5 separate regions of the Homo sapiens genome follow, and regions 2, 3, 4 and 5 are each linked to region 1. Evidence: promoter capture Hi-C in human tissues and cell types (Jung and others, 2019). All regions are on one chromosome and are shown on one strand. The core of a region is centred on a gene start or on the middle of the fragment in contact, and the rest is flanking DNA. Distances in the headings are between cores, read along the strand shown. Region 1 holds the start of TALDO1 (transaldolase 1). Region 2 holds the start of HRAS (HRas proto-oncogene, GTPase). Region 3 holds the start of AP2A2 (adaptor related protein complex 2 subunit alpha 2). Region 4 overlaps CHID1 (chitinase domain containing 1). Region 5 holds the start of IRF7 (interferon regulatory factor 7).

Region 1 (2,685 bases), core at 97-2,596:
TTAAGAAGTCTTTTCCGCCGGGCGCGGTGGCTCACGCCTGGAATCCCAGCACTTTGGGAGACTGAGGTGGGCGGATCACGAGGTCAGGAGATCGAGACCATGCTGGCCAACATGATGAAACCCCGTCTGTACTAAAAATACAAAAATTAGCCGGGCGTGGTGGTGAGCGCCTGTAATTCCAGCTACTCGGGAGGCTGAGGCAGGAAAATCGCTCGAACCCGGGAGGCGGAGGTTGTAGTTAGCCAAGATCGCGCCACTGCACTCCAGCCTGGGCAACAAGGGCGAGATTCCGTCTCAAAAAAAAAAAAAAGTCTTTTCAGGTTTTTGCATTTCTGACAACCGGATGGCCCCACCTGGACCTGCCAACCAGTTGTGTGGCCTCTACCCAGGGACTGACTCAGCATAAGCGGACAGCTTCGACTCCCTGTGATTTCATCCCTAGCTGACCAGTCAGCACTTCTGACTCACTGGCCCCCTACCCACCAAATTATTCTTAAATACTGGGATCCCCGAGTTTTGGGGAGACTGATTTGAGGAATAAAACTCTGGTCTCCCGAACAATCGGCTCTGTGTGAATTATGCTTTCTCTATTGCAATTCCCCTGTCTTGACAATAGACTCTGTCCCGGCAGCTGGCAAGGCGAACCCATGGGGCGGTTACAGTGTCTGCAACGCAGACACAAGCGACAGAGACTTGATCAGAATATACAAGGAACTCTGCAAGTCAGCGATGGTAAGAAGCAGGGCAGCTGGGCCTCCTACGCCTGCCTCGCCGTTCGGTCCCCCGGACACCTCTGGGCTTAGGACTCAGGGGAACAGATTCCCAGAAGCAGGTTCCCCGCCGCGTCCGGCGCCCGGGCTCTGCAGCCGCCCCCTGCTCTGCCTCCTGCACCCGCAGGGCGTCCCCCGCCGCTCCCTCCCCTGCTTCCTGCAGCGGCCCCCGACCCCAGTCCTGGCCCCACCATGGATCCTGCATCGCCGGGTTCGGCCCTGGCGGGTTCAGCCCCGCAGAGTCGGCACCCGGGCCAGGTCCATCTCCTCCAGCCCTCCCGGTGCGTCCCGCGGGGCAGGAAGGAGGCGAGGCCCAGCCGCCCCGTGTCGTGCAGGTGTTTTCCCGGGCCCGTCCGCGGCGGCTGCTGAGGACCTGGGGAGACCCAGCCTGTAGGATCCGCAGCTGCGGTGCGCGGCCGGCAGTGGCGCTCGGGCTTCGTCCCCGGGGGCGGGGCTTCGTCCAGGCGCGCAGGGACCAGCGGGCCTCGCCCTCCCGCGCCGCTTTCCGATTGGCAGCCGCCCGCGGGGCATTGTGGGCCGTCCGCGCGCCCGTCCCGTCGCCGCCGCCGCCGCCGCAGACCCCTCGGTCTTGCTATGTCGAGCTCACCCGTGAAGCGTCAGAGGATGGAGTCCGCGCTGGACCAGCTCAAGCAGTTCACCACCGTGGTGGCCGACACGGGCGACTTCCACGGTGAGGACGGCGCGGAGCCCGGGCGCGGCGCAAGCGCCCTCCAGAGGCCCCGGCGCCCCGATTTCCCCGGGTCTCCCGTTCCGGGACGCGGACCGGGTGGCGGTGCCCCGGGCGGCTCGTTCCGGGAGGAATGAGCGCAGGTGCCGGATGTTGGGGCCAGGGACAGCCGTGAGGGGAGCGGGGCCCGGGTCGGCCGTGAGAGGCGCAGGGCCAGCGGCGACCGTGAGGGGAACGGGGCCCGGGTCGGCCGTGAGGGAGCAGGGCCGGGGGCAGCCGTGAGGAGCTGGGGTCAGCCGTGAGGGGCTCGGTGCTGGGGTCAGCGGTGCGGGCGGTACTGACGGGTCCTTGCGAGCCGTGGGGCACGAAGCCGGAGCCCCAGCCTCGCCCTCCGCCCAGGGTGGGGTCGGCTGCGCCCTCAGACCCCGCACCCGGGACGGGCTGTGGGCAGCCCGCGGGAGCCCCTCTGTGCACCTTCATGGGTCGAGGCAGCTTTCAGAGCCTTTGAGTTCAGGAGAGATTCAGGGTAGAGCTTCGAGCTGACTTCCACGTGGCCAGTTTGTGGTCAGCGAGATGCAATTTTGTTGGGCTGATGTCTGCAGAGCGGGGACATCAGCTAGCTCTGACCAGAAGCTGCCAGTGCTGCCATCGCCCTTGAGCCCTGCGGTGCCCAGTGGGACAACTCCGTGGGCGGCAGGTGCCCGGCCTGCTGGACAGCCACCGCCAGACGCACCGGGTGGGTAAAAGCCGGTGCCCATGAAAGCACAGGGTTGGTACACTGTTAAATACTGGATTTTCCTGGGCTTGAGTTGTTTACATTGGAGAGAACTTGGAAAATACAAAGAAGGATTATTTATTAATACTTAGCTCTTCTGTCCTCTGCAGTGCAGAGTAGACGAGCCTTGTGTCTATGTTTTGTTGAGAACAAGTAATATTTTTTAAGAAAATCATGAAACGCTTCATGGATGAATGCTGCGAGCACCTAATACGGAAGTGACTTCCTCTCTTTTCTGCTTTCTCATGGTGACTTGAGAAACAGGCTTTAATTCCTCTTTGGTAACTGAGTAAGGGCATTGTTTATCTAGCAGAGCCTAGAGAGTGAATTGGCATGTTTGGCTGCTTAACCATAAAATATGGGGATTCAGTGACTGGCTTGGGGTGCCACAGTCTGCTCCGGACCCCTCTTTGGGAGATCCAAAGCTAGAGCTGTGAATCCCTCACACACAC
Region 2 (2,685 bases), core at 186-2,685, 210 kb before region 1:
GCCCTATCCTGGCTGTGTCCTGGGCTCGCCCGCAGCAGCTGCTGGCACCTGGACGGCGGCGCCAGGCTCACCTCTATAGTGGGGTCGTATTCGTCCACAAAATGGTTCTGGATCAGCTGGATGGTCAGCGCACTCTTGCCCACACCGCCGGCGCCCACCACCACCAGCTTATATTCCGTCATCGCTCCTCAGGGGCCTGCGGCCCGGGGTCCTCCTACAGGGTCTCCTGCCCCACCTGCCAAGGAGGGCCCTGCTCAGCCAGGCCCAGGCCCAGCCCCAGGCCCCACAGGGCAGCTGCTGGCAGGGCCATCTGAAGGGCAAACCCACAGCGGTCCCTGGGCCCCAACGCCAGGCAGCAAGGACTGCAGCGTGCCTACCTGTGCAGCTGCAACCCAGCGTGCGGGAGGGCTGTCGCCTCGCCCCCACTTGCTCTTAATGACCCAGTGATGGGAAAAGGGACCCAGCCCTCAAAGGCAGGGCTGACAGCTGAGCGCTCTCAACCACGCACCCAAATTAGAAGCTGCTGGGTCGGCAGAAAGGCTAAAGGGAGGCGCCCGAGGGCTGAGGTTACCGTCCTCCAGAACAGGTCTGGCCACGGCGGAGCGCGCCACGGCGTGCCCGGGCAGGCTAGTGCCAGCCTGCAGGCCCCGCGGCGCTGGTGCCTCCGACAAGTATTTGCTGAGCGCCTACTGCGTACTAGGCGCCGCCGAGGGGAGGGCAGACCCGGGCAGCGCCCCGCACCCCCGGCGGGGAACCGGGGGCATCTTTCAGCCACAGAAAGCTGGAGAAGACAGAGGAGCTCCTGGGAAGCAGGGACTGAGCGACAGGAAGGGGCCGAGAAGCGGCGCGGGAGACCCGGAGAGGGAAAAGGCACTGGGGCTGAGGCCCCCGGCCTGGTCCGCGACCTGTGATGCTGAATCGGGGGTGCCCGGGCGTGCCGTGGCCGCGGCCGCCTCCTCCCAGACGCCCCCGGGTGTGAGGGCGCCGGGCCCGAGGCTCCCGGGTACGCCGGCGTGGGGACCGTGCCCAGCGCGAGGCCACGGGTGGGGCCCGGATTCCCGCAGGCCCCAGGGAGGAAGGGGCCCCCGCCCGCCGCAGCCCCCGACGCCCGCTCACCTGTGCCCGCGGGCCCCGCCCGGCCCCACCCACCCGCCGCCGCCGCCGCCGCCGCCGCTTACGCCCGCCGGCCCCGCGCCCCCGGCCCGCGCCGCGCGTATTGCTGCCGCCTGGGGGCGAGGAGGGCGCGCGGCCCGGCCGATCCCTGCCCGCACTCACCGTTCACAGGCGCGACTGCCCCCGGGGCCAGGGCCGGGGCCGAGGCCGGGGCGGGGCGGGGGCGGGGGCGCGCGGTTCGCCCCGCGCATGGGCTCCGTCCGCGGCGGGTGCGGCTCGGGTTGCGGGCGCAGGGCACGGGCGGCGGAGACTCGGGCGGGCCTGCGCACGCCCCGCCCCGCGCCCGTCCGTCTGCCAGGCGCGGCCTACCATTGGCTGCGCGCCATCGGGCCCCGCCCCACCCCGGTTGGCTGAGCGGCCCGTCTGTCAGGAGCCGCGGTCGGGCGGGGCTTCCGGGAGCAACGCGGGAGGCGGAGCCAGTAGGGCCGCGGCCTCTCGGGGTTGGGCTTGGCTGGAGACCGGAGCCGAGCTCGGGGTTGCTCGAGGAAGGCCAGGGAGCCGGTGTCTGGGGGCCCGGGGCGGCATCTCCGAGCAGGGCCCCGGGCTCTCCCGGGAACAGGCCGGCGAGAGAACCCGACTCAGCGGTGCCGGTGCACCAGAGGCCCTCCCTGCGCCGGCAGCGCGGCGCCGCCCACCGCGGAGGTCCCGGGGCTACGGGCTGGGGAAAGGCTGGGATCCGCCGGGACCAAGGCGGGATGCTCGGAGCTGGGGGCCCCCGGGTGGCCGCGGGGTCCGGTTGCCCGGCTGCCCTTCCGCGCAGGTGGAGCGGCCGCGCACCCCACCTACCACCACGCACCCCAGCTCCCCTACTCCCACCGCAACCCACCCCGAGGACGCTTGCAGCCCCGGTGGGGTTCCGGGCGGCGGGCGCAGCCGTGTGCCCTGGGGCCAGGCGTGAGAACGCCCCCTCCACCACTCTCCTCTTTCTCGGGCCTGCGTGGCAGGCGACCCTGCCCGCCCAGTCCCCCCAAACTTGAGGTTCCAACGCTGCAGAAGCTCAGCGTGGTCCAGTTAAACCGTACCCACAAGTTGCCACAGGGGAGCGAAGTGCCCAGGGCTCACCCCAAGCACATAGACGCACATCCTAGCTCTTTCAAACCCAAAAAGACATGTTTTTAACATTTTTTAAAATTGCAAAGGAATCAGAAATACATCCTCATTAAAAAACAAAAAGGGCCGGGCGCGGTGGCTCACGCCTATAATCCCAGCACTTCGGGAGGCCTAAGCGGGTGGATTACTTGAGGTCAGGAGTTCAAGACCAGCCTGGCCAACATGATGAAACCCTGTCTCTACTAAAAACACAAAAAATTAGTCGGCTGCAGTGGCGCGCGCCTGTAGTCCCAGCTACTCGGGAGGCTGAGGCAGGAGAATCGCTGGAACCCGGGAGGCGGATGTTGCGGTGAGCCGAAATCGCGCCACTGCACTGGGCAACAGAGCGCTACTTCGTCTCAAAACAAAAAAGGCGTTTTACAGTCAGGCAAACCCTGCCTCTGCCCAGTCCAGCGCCCGCCT
Region 3 (2,685 bases), core at 95-2,594, 180 kb after region 1:
TCGGCTCCGTGCCTCTGTCTTGGGAAGTGATGGACTTGGTTGCCTTATGCTGACTGGGGTCTGTCACAGATCTTGGTTTTCCCCAGGAGTTCTGGAGGCCCAGAGCCTGGGTGCGGCACCCGGTTCATTGGGGAGGGGCATGGGTCCTGTGCCCTCCTCCTGGCCGGGCTCCACCAGGGCTAAGCTCTCATCTGGGGCTGCGGAAGTGAGCCAGGGTGGGGACAAAGCCCTGGCTGGTGGGTCTGGGCCAGTTCCAGGTACAGGGTCCAGATCCCCCCACTGCAGCAGGAGGGAGCTTCCTGTTCAAAGCCATCTGGCTCTGGGAAGGACAGTGAGGCAGGGCCATCTGCTTCCCCACTCCCTGGGGTCTCTTCCTGGCCGGGACCTGGAGCTGTGCAGCCTGGCCCAGCAGGTCCTCCCTTGCGATGTGTCCACAGGGGTGGGCCTAGGCCTCCAGCTTGCAGTGGTGCAGAGGGCTGGGGAGCAGAGGGGGCCCTGGCAACAGTGGCCAAAAGTCCTGGCGCCGCCGAGGGACTAGATTCCGCAGGGGCTGCCGCCCCCGGCCGCTGTCACTGGGGTGGGGTGGGTGGTTGTTTCTCTGCAGGCCCAGGTGATGTGGAGGGGGCACCTGGGCTGCCACACAGACCCTGGGCTGGGTCGGGCACGGGGCCTGCCTCGCCCCCAGCTCAGGGACCGCAAGAGATGTGGCCCTGGCGGCTCAGGGCGGCAGGAGGGGCGGGCCAGCCCCACCGTCTCAGGATACCGTGCTAGGGGAGGGTTTCCTCGCCAAAGGCCGTCCAGCGGCTGTGACCCCTTCGCCTGGAGCCCCAGCTTCCTCCCGGCGCCGCCCTCCCGCCCCGGCCCCCGCGGAACAAACAAGGCCCTGGCCTCGGAGCTGCCCCGCCGCCCAGCGCTCACAGGTCGTTTATTCCAAGTAAGAAAACGGAGACTGCTCGGGGCAAGCTAGCGGGGCCGAGGCCCAGGACGAGGCCGTACGCGTGTGCCTGCGTGGCCGCCTCTTTTGCAGTGACCACCAACAACGACAGAGGCGGCCCGCTGCACACGCGGGTTCCCGCCCGGACCCACGCCCTTCCCGTGGGGGACGCGGGCGGCATCGCCAGCTTGGCGCGGCCCCGGGACGCGAACGCGTGGCTTCAGCGGCTCCGTCCATGGTGTCCGCCTGCAGGGGGCGCCCCCGCGCCTGCCTCGACCGGCTCGCCCCCGTGCCGCGGACGCGCGCGCGCTGCCTCACGCGACACCCGCCCCGGCCGCCGTCCGTCGTCGCTCGCGTGCGTGCGCGTGCGTGCTGGTGCGGGCGCCGTACGTGCGCGCGCGCGGCGGCCCAGAAAGCGGCGCTGGGACCCTGAGGCGGCCGTGGTTAGGCGGCTCCCCGGCGGCTCCTCCGCGGCGGTGACGGCGACCGCACTCCCCGCTTCCCGCTCCCCGCGCTCCTCCGCCCGGGTCCGCCAGCCGAGGCCGCTCCCGAGCGTCGGAAGATGCCGGCCGTGTCCAAGGGGGACGGGATGCGGGGCCTGGCGGTCTTCATCTCGGATATCCGCAACTGTGAGTGGCGGGGGCGGCGTGGGGCCGGGGCCGGGGCCGCCGGCGGAGACGGGGTCTGGGAGCGGAGGCCCGGGGCGGGGCCTCGAGGCGGGGGTGCAGGCTGGGATGCGGGCGGGGCCCGGGGCCTGAGGGTGCGGGCGGCGCTCGGGGTCTTGGGGTACCGGGTCTGGGGGTGGGGGCCAGGGTGCGGGGTGGGGGTCCAGGGTCTGGGGGTGCGGGCGGCGCTCAGAGTCTTGGGGTATCGGGTATGGGGGTGCGGGTCAGGATGCAGAGCGGGGCCCTGGGTCTGGGGGTGCGGGGTGGGGTGTCCAGGGTCTAGGGGTGCGGGGTCTAGGGGTTTAGGGCACGGCCCTTCATCCACATCTCCACTCCCGTTTGCTGGTCCGTGCGGGGGGCTGCGGCACCACCAAGGGGGTTCCGGGCCAAGACGCCCCTCCCCAGCATGATGTCACCTTGGTCTTTCTAGTACTGGAGCGTTTAACCCAGCGTTTTCCAAAACGGCGTGGATTTTAGCTTTGGGAGCAGAAATCTGGAAATCAGTGTCTTCCCAGGAAACAGCTTTGTGACCTGGGTTCTGGAGGCTTATTAACCCCTGATTAGATCTCACCTACGACGATTAAAATGACTCATTCCCGGAGGGAATCTGGACACGAGCAGCAGTCGGGGTGTGGGATGGCCTCGCTGCCTGCTGCTCCAATCACAGACCTCGTTCTCAGCCCCGTGCCTGTCCCCTCGGGGTGGGAAAAATCCACACCAAACCGTTAAACAAGCCAGGAAGGCTGGGCCTGTTAGAAGGATGTGCAGGGTGGCTGGGTGGGTGCACCGGTCCACCAATTAATTTGACTTTGGTGTGCAGAACCTCCTCTTGGCTTTCAGAGGCCATCTCCTTATTTAATTTGAGGGAGAAACAAAGCCAGTTTCCTGTCTGCTGCGTTGATTTTTTTCCTTGTTATCCAGCAAATAGTTGACTTCATGATTTTTGTTTTTCTTTTTTTTGAGACAGGGTCTTGCTCTGGCTCTCAGGCTGGAGCGCAGTAGTTCCATCACGGCGCACTCAACCTCCCACCTCAAGTGATCCTACCACCTCAGCCTCCGGAGTCACTGGGACTACAAGCGTGCACC
Region 4 (2,685 bases), core at 135-2,634, 160 kb after region 1:
AAAGAAACAAAACAAAAAATAAATGAGCAGGCTATCTGGAATTACTGGTCATTGTTTCTTCTCTTTTACTTTATCTGTATCTTCTGGTCTTCCTGCACTAAACTTTTATTACACTGTTCACTTTCAGGTTCTAGGGGCCACCAACAAAAGTGATTCTACTTTCCGGCCGGGCGCGGTGGCTCACGCCTGTAATCCCAGCACTTTGGGAGGCCGAAGCGGGCAGATCACGAGGTCAGGAGATCGAGACCATCCTGGCTAACACGGTGAAACCCCATCTCTGCTAAAAATACAAAAAATTAGCCAGGCATGGTGGCAGGCGCCTGTAGTCCCAGCTATTCGAGAGGCTGAAGCAGGAGAATGGTGTGAATCCAGGAGGTGGAGTTCGCAGTGAGCCGAGATAGTGCCAGTGCACTCCAGCCTGGGCGACGGTGCGAGACTGTCTTTAAAAAAAAAAAAAAAGTGATTCTACTTTCTATCTTTCACTGGGGTTGGGGGCAGCGGCGGTGGGAGCTGAACCACCACCATAGCCCAGCCAGACTGTTAGTCCTTCATGAAGCTTTGGGACACTGCTGGGAAGAAGCTCTTGGCTAGTTTCACAGCTCTGGCAGCACAGACCCCTCTAGACCAGCTGAGAGGCCCACACAGCCTGGGCAGAGGCAGATACCTGACAGGTGGGGAGCTCAGCCCAACTCACTACCCAGCAGCTGGGCACATGGCCTTCCCCTTGGGTCACAGGCTCCTGAGTATATGGGAGCTCAGGCCCAAGAGGCTCCAGGAACCCCAGCCAGGCAGGTGCACCTGTCAGAAGATGCTGCCAGAGCCAGGCCTACCACAGTGCCTACCCTCCTACCCAAAAGACTCCCTGGCCAGGAACCTGTTTTCACTTCCTCTGAAACCGTCCCCTTGACCTGCTTTCTTCTGCAGAGGCACACGCTGCCCCACTTTGCCCTGTCTCTTCCCTGGGTGAGACTGGTGCTCCTGGTGCAGACTGAGGAGACTGTGGCTACCCCCAGGCAGGGAGTTTGCATGCTTTGGTACCCAATACACCCACAACACACCTGCATAGAAAGAACACGCTCCTGGAGCAAGATCAACCAGTGAAGCTCCCCCACCTAGGAGGCAGGGAGCCACAAGACAGCCTGACCTGCAGGCTTATGGGGAGTTAGGAAGGGAACTCACAGGGCAAGCACAGCAGCACCCAGTACATGGAGCCACAGGCAAAGGCAGTGAGTGCTTGAACAGCCACGGCAGTTCCGAGAGGCTGTGCAGGGGGAATAAGAAGGCCCAGGCACAGATCACCACCCTCTGCCCCGATCAACCTCTCCAGCCCCTCTCCTCAGTGATACATCCCAGAATCAGAACCAAGGGCAGCAGCCTGCTGCCACCTCCCCTTAGCCCCACTATCTTTCTGCTGCAGCTGAGGCTTGGTCTGAGTCAGCAACAGCCCCAGGGAAGGTGGGGAGGGTTCTGGCCATGGCACAGGGAAGACGGCCCAGAATCACTTGCCTGGCCAGGCTGAAACGGTGGCTGCCTCAGCTCCCAGGCACCCAGTCTTTGACCCCAGCCCATTCCATGACCACTGGCTCCTTCTCTGTCTTCTGGGTGGAAATCTGGGTCAGGGAGGAAGGAAAGGAATGAAAAACCAAACGGTGGTTCTCCAGGGGACTGGCCCAGGAGTAACTGGAGGGCACACTCAGGTACCCAGTGACCAACCACTATAGGGCTGGGTCTCTGCCCCTACCTGCCGTCCTGCAGATTTGAAACAGGGCCACTGTCCACCCACCTAGTGGCCCCTCTGCCTATGACCTCCCTGCCCCCCAACCTGTGATTTCACACTTCAGGGAAGGAAGAGGAAAGGGTGGAAGAGGAAGACAGTCCTGCCAGCATGTGTCCAGCAGAGGGGACACTAGGAGAACCTAACTGAACACAAGGCCAGGGTACTGCCTCTGTCCACTCGCGCTTAACTTGCCCGCTCTGTGATGGAGTGCTTGGATACAGGCTGCTCACAAATGCTGGGCTGCTTCTTTGACTTGCCATGGAACTTTCCAGACAACTGCCCCAGGGAGATGGTGTGTGTGATGTGTGAGGGGTGCTCACACTGCAACCAGGCCCTTGTCTGGGCTTTGGTACCTCTCCCGCTCCCCACTGCTCACCGGCCGCTCGGCTCTGAGGCCCGTGAGGACACTCTCCATCATGCTCTTCACATAACACAGACTCCCAGGTTCACACACACTGTGTTCCTGCATCAAACCGTTTCTTCCCCAAATGCCAATGACCTTCCCTTGGGCAGAACGGCCCCGCACACAAAGGGAATGTGTTGTGTTATGAAGAGGCACAGGCCCCGACCCTGGTCACCCAAAGGGGTCCCAGAAACCGCTCTGTAACAAGATAAGGTGGAGCGCTACTGCTCCCACTTTCCTGCGCTCCCAGTCCGTAGGTCCAGGACCTCCTCGGTGGTGTTGATGGAAATGATGGGAGTCACAGCAGGGGCTTTCCAATGCTTTTCATGGAGACCAGCAGTAAGAAATGCACTTTACGTCACAGCCCAGCACACGTGTATGTCATGTGTGCACATGTGTTGTGCATGTGTGTACATGTGTAGAGCGACAGCAGCCAATCAGAGCTAACTCTATTCTGCGATGGACGCACTGACAACTCCTGTTCTGTTGTGTTTTGAAGAACTAA
Region 5 (2,526 bases), core at 27-2,526, 130 kb before region 1:
GTCCTGGGCCTGCTGGCAGCCTCTCCCAGAACAGCTTCTAAAACCACAAATCTGACCCAGAGAATGTTCCCCTTTGCCCAAGCAGGACGAATGCCAACGCCCTTGGCAGCCGGCGTCGCTCACCTCGCCAGCACAGCTCCCGGCTGAGCGCGTACACCTTGTGCGGGTCGGCCGGGTCCCCCGAGTTATCCCGCAGCATCACGAAGCGACGCGTGCTGCGCAGTGCGCAGCGGAAGTTGGTTTTCCAGCCGGCGCGCTCCGCAGTCTCAGCCTCGGGGGGCGGGCCACCTCCCCTGCTGCTAGGCGGCCACCTGCCGCGGGCCACAGCCCAGGCCTGAAGAGGGGGACAGAACACGTGTGCCGGGCCCGCGGGGTCCTAGGCGGGCTCTCCCACCCGGGGCGGGGCGGGGCTGGGGTCCCCACCTTGAAGATGCGCGCGTCGGCCTCGCTCAGGTCCTTGCGCGCGAAGTGCTTCCAGGGCACGCGGAAACAGGTGCGGGCCTCGTCCAGCCACTGCAGCCCCTCATAGCAGCCGCTGCTGATCTCTCCAAGGAGCCACTCTCCGAACAGCACGCGTGGGGCTGCCCTGCGGGTGCCCGGCCGCGGAGAGTCAGGGCCGGCTGCAGGGCGCTCGGGGACTGGCATCTGGAGAGGGTGGGCCGGGCTCTTACCTCTCAGGAGCCAAGGCCATTGCTCCTTCTGCAGGGGCAGTTAGGTGGCGGTCAGGTGTTATAACAGGGGAGGTAAGGGCTCCTGTCGCAGCAGACGCCAGGCCGCGGCCACAGGTCGTGTGGCCAGGTGTCACAGGTGTCCACAGGTGTGGACTGAGGGCTTGTAGCCACCGACGCTGCCTCGGTATGGATCTCTTGGCAGAGGGGGCTACAGGTGTGACTGCAGGTGTGGCCGGCGCGCACACATGAAGTCACAGGTGTTGAACCAGTGTCCAGGCCTGGCGGGAAGGCGCAGGCCGGACCCTGCGGAGACGGGAAAGGCGACGTCAGGGGCGGGTCAGGCTCCCGGGAAAGCGAAACCTAAACAGTGGCGCTTCGCACCCTCCTCGATCCCACCCCGTCCGGTTCTCAGCTCCGCGGAACCCCGCCTCCGCCTCCGCCTCCCTCCCCGCCCGACCCTCATCTCTCAGGCTCCCCCAGCTCTTGGCTCTACCCCTCCGGGGTCACGGAGCCCCCACGGAGGCTCTCGCTCCCGGCCTGCACCGCGTGGGTCTGGGGTCCCCAGTACCTGGGTGCCAGAGCCGCCGGGACGGGAAGTTTCGTCTCGCGGGGAAGCGGAGGGCCGGCGCTTTTATGGTGGCCAGGCGGGAGTTTCCGGGAAGGGCGCGCGCCGCCTGTTCTTATTATTGGATGCGACCAGCGGAACCCCGCCCCGGCCAGCGCGGAGTAGGGAGGAGTGGAGGGCGTTGGGAGTGGCTGCAGTGAGCCGAGATGGAGCCACTCCACTACAGCCCAGGGGACAGAGCAAGACTCAGTCTCAAAAAAAAAAGGAAGTGGGTAATGGGAGGTGGACGTGCCTCGAAAAAGGGGCAGCTGCACCGTTTGCGTTTCTTTTTTTGAGATGGAGTTTCGCTTTTGTTACCCAGGCTGGAGTGCGGTGGCACAATCTTGGCCCACCACAACCTCCGCCTCCCGGGTTCAAGTGATTCTCCTACCTAAGCCTCCCGAGTAGCTGGGATTACAGGCATGAACCACCACGCCCGGCTAATTTTGTATTTTTAGTAGAGACGGGGTTTCTCTATGTTGGTCAGGCTGGTGTCGAACTCCCGACCTCAGGTGATCTGCCCACCTCGGCCTCCCAAAGTGCTGGGATTTAGGCGAGAGCCGCCGTGCGCAGCCCCCTTTGGGTTTTTTACATTGTTCAGTCAAGAATATCAGATACTCTCACAATTAAAACATTTGGAAAGGAATTAATGGTGTATTTCCATTAGGGAAAGTGCTGACAAGCCGCAAGGGATCCCTTGATGGTTCTGGGCATGGGCGCCCAGCCTGGGCTCTGGCTTTGGGAGCAGCGAGGGGAATGTGTCTCTCACCCCTAGGCCTCCTGGTCTGGCTCCTGCTCAGGCCACACGGCGCACCCACCCCCAGCGCGCCTCAGTCCAGGTCACTGGGCAGGGTGTTTACTGCTGCGCTCCAACCCAAGCATGTAGATTTCAGAAGGGGACTAGGACCCCCGGCAGGTGTTTGAGACCACCGGCTCCCAAGTGCGTCGCCTTGGGGGTTTGCATCGGCTCCTCAGCCTCCCCAGGCAATCTCTGTGTAGGGTCGGGAGCGGGAGGTCTGAGATGAGCCGGGTGCCTGAGATCTCCGGTGCAGGTCGGGGGAGGGGAGCCCCCCTCGGGCTGTGGTTAGAGCGGGAGAGGAACTTCCCAGACTAGCTGGCACAGAGCCTCGGGAAGGCGGCGGGCACTGCAGGTGGTTTACGGGAAGTGCTGCAGCCTTGGGGTGGGGACAGCGTGGCCAGACCCACCGCCTCATCTGCACACCTGGGCTCAAGCGCTAATGACGACAGGGG

What was found. The method cuts DNA at HindIII sites, captures the fragments that hold promoters and counts their contacts. A contact is called where the count stands out against the background at its distance.
Region 2: a contact is called between the fragment with the promoter of HRAS here and the fragment with the promoter of TALDO1 in region 1, in 4 of the 25 tissues and cell types used here (dorsolateral prefrontal cortex, heart left ventricle, lymphoblastoid cells and 1 more).
Region 3: a contact is called between the fragment with the promoter of AP2A2 here and the fragment with the promoter of TALDO1 in region 1, in 1 of the 25 tissues and cell types used here (spleen).
Region 4: a contact is called between a fragment that was not itself captured here and the fragment with the promoter of TALDO1 in region 1, in 3 of the 25 tissues and cell types used here (dorsolateral prefrontal cortex, lymphoblastoid cells and spleen).
Region 5: the fragment with the promoter of IRF7 here is called in contact with the fragment with the promoter of TALDO1 in region 1 in 9 of the 25 tissues and cell types used here (H1 embryonic stem cells, IMR-90 fibroblasts, adrenal gland and 6 more).

What each region holds. Positions count from the first base shown.
Region 1 is chr11:746,118-748,802 of GRCh38, forward strand. TALDO1 (transaldolase 1) reads left to right here and starts at 1,347. Exons shown (of 8, transcript NM_006755.2): 1 at 1,347-1,461. The coding sequence starts at 1,365. It overlaps LOC105376509 (a long non-coding RNA gene), which reads left to right. Exons shown (of 3, transcript XR_930962.3): 3 at 632-845. RefSeq lists enhancers at 331-979, 618-677, 980-1,628 and silencers at 808-1,407, 1,468-1,757, 1,858-1,947. The HindIII fragment of the contact is 22,782 bases long and covers 1-2,685 here.
Region 2 is chr11:534,141-536,825 of GRCh38, forward strand. HRAS (HRas proto-oncogene, GTPase) reads right to left here and starts at 1,436. Exons shown (of 6, transcript NM_005343.4): 1 at 1,276-1,436; 2 at 72-235. The coding sequence starts at 182. It also overlaps a transcript of LRRC56 not described here. RefSeq lists enhancers at 1-509, 510-1,366, 1,388-2,095 and a silencer at 373-532. The HindIII fragment of the contact is 24,710 bases long and covers 1-2,685 here.
Region 3 is chr11:924,526-927,210 of GRCh38, forward strand. It overlaps AP2A2 (adaptor related protein complex 2 subunit alpha 2), which reads left to right and starts at 1,345. Exons shown (of 22, transcript NM_012305.4): 1 at 1,345-1,563. The coding sequence starts at 1,497. RefSeq lists a silencer at 1,157-1,696. The HindIII fragment of the contact is 16,179 bases long and covers 1-2,685 here.
Region 4 is chr11:907,036-909,720 of GRCh38, forward strand. All of the region lies in intron 1 of CHID1 (chitinase domain containing 1), which reads right to left. Among named protein-coding and RNA genes, the nearest start is that of CHID1, 2.4 kb to the right of the region's middle. The HindIII fragment of the contact is 5,018 bases long and covers 1-2,685 here.
Region 5 is chr11:614,674-617,199 of GRCh38, forward strand. IRF7 (interferon regulatory factor 7) reads right to left here and starts at 1,277. Exons shown (of 11, transcript NM_001572.5): 1 at 1,240-1,277; 2 at 672-974; 3 at 424-586; 4 at 124-334. The coding sequence starts at 691. CDHR5 (cadherin related family member 5) reads right to left here. Exons shown (of 15, transcript NM_021924.5): 15 at 1,910-2,526. RefSeq lists an enhancer at 139-733. The HindIII fragment of the contact is 18,510 bases long and covers 1-2,526 here.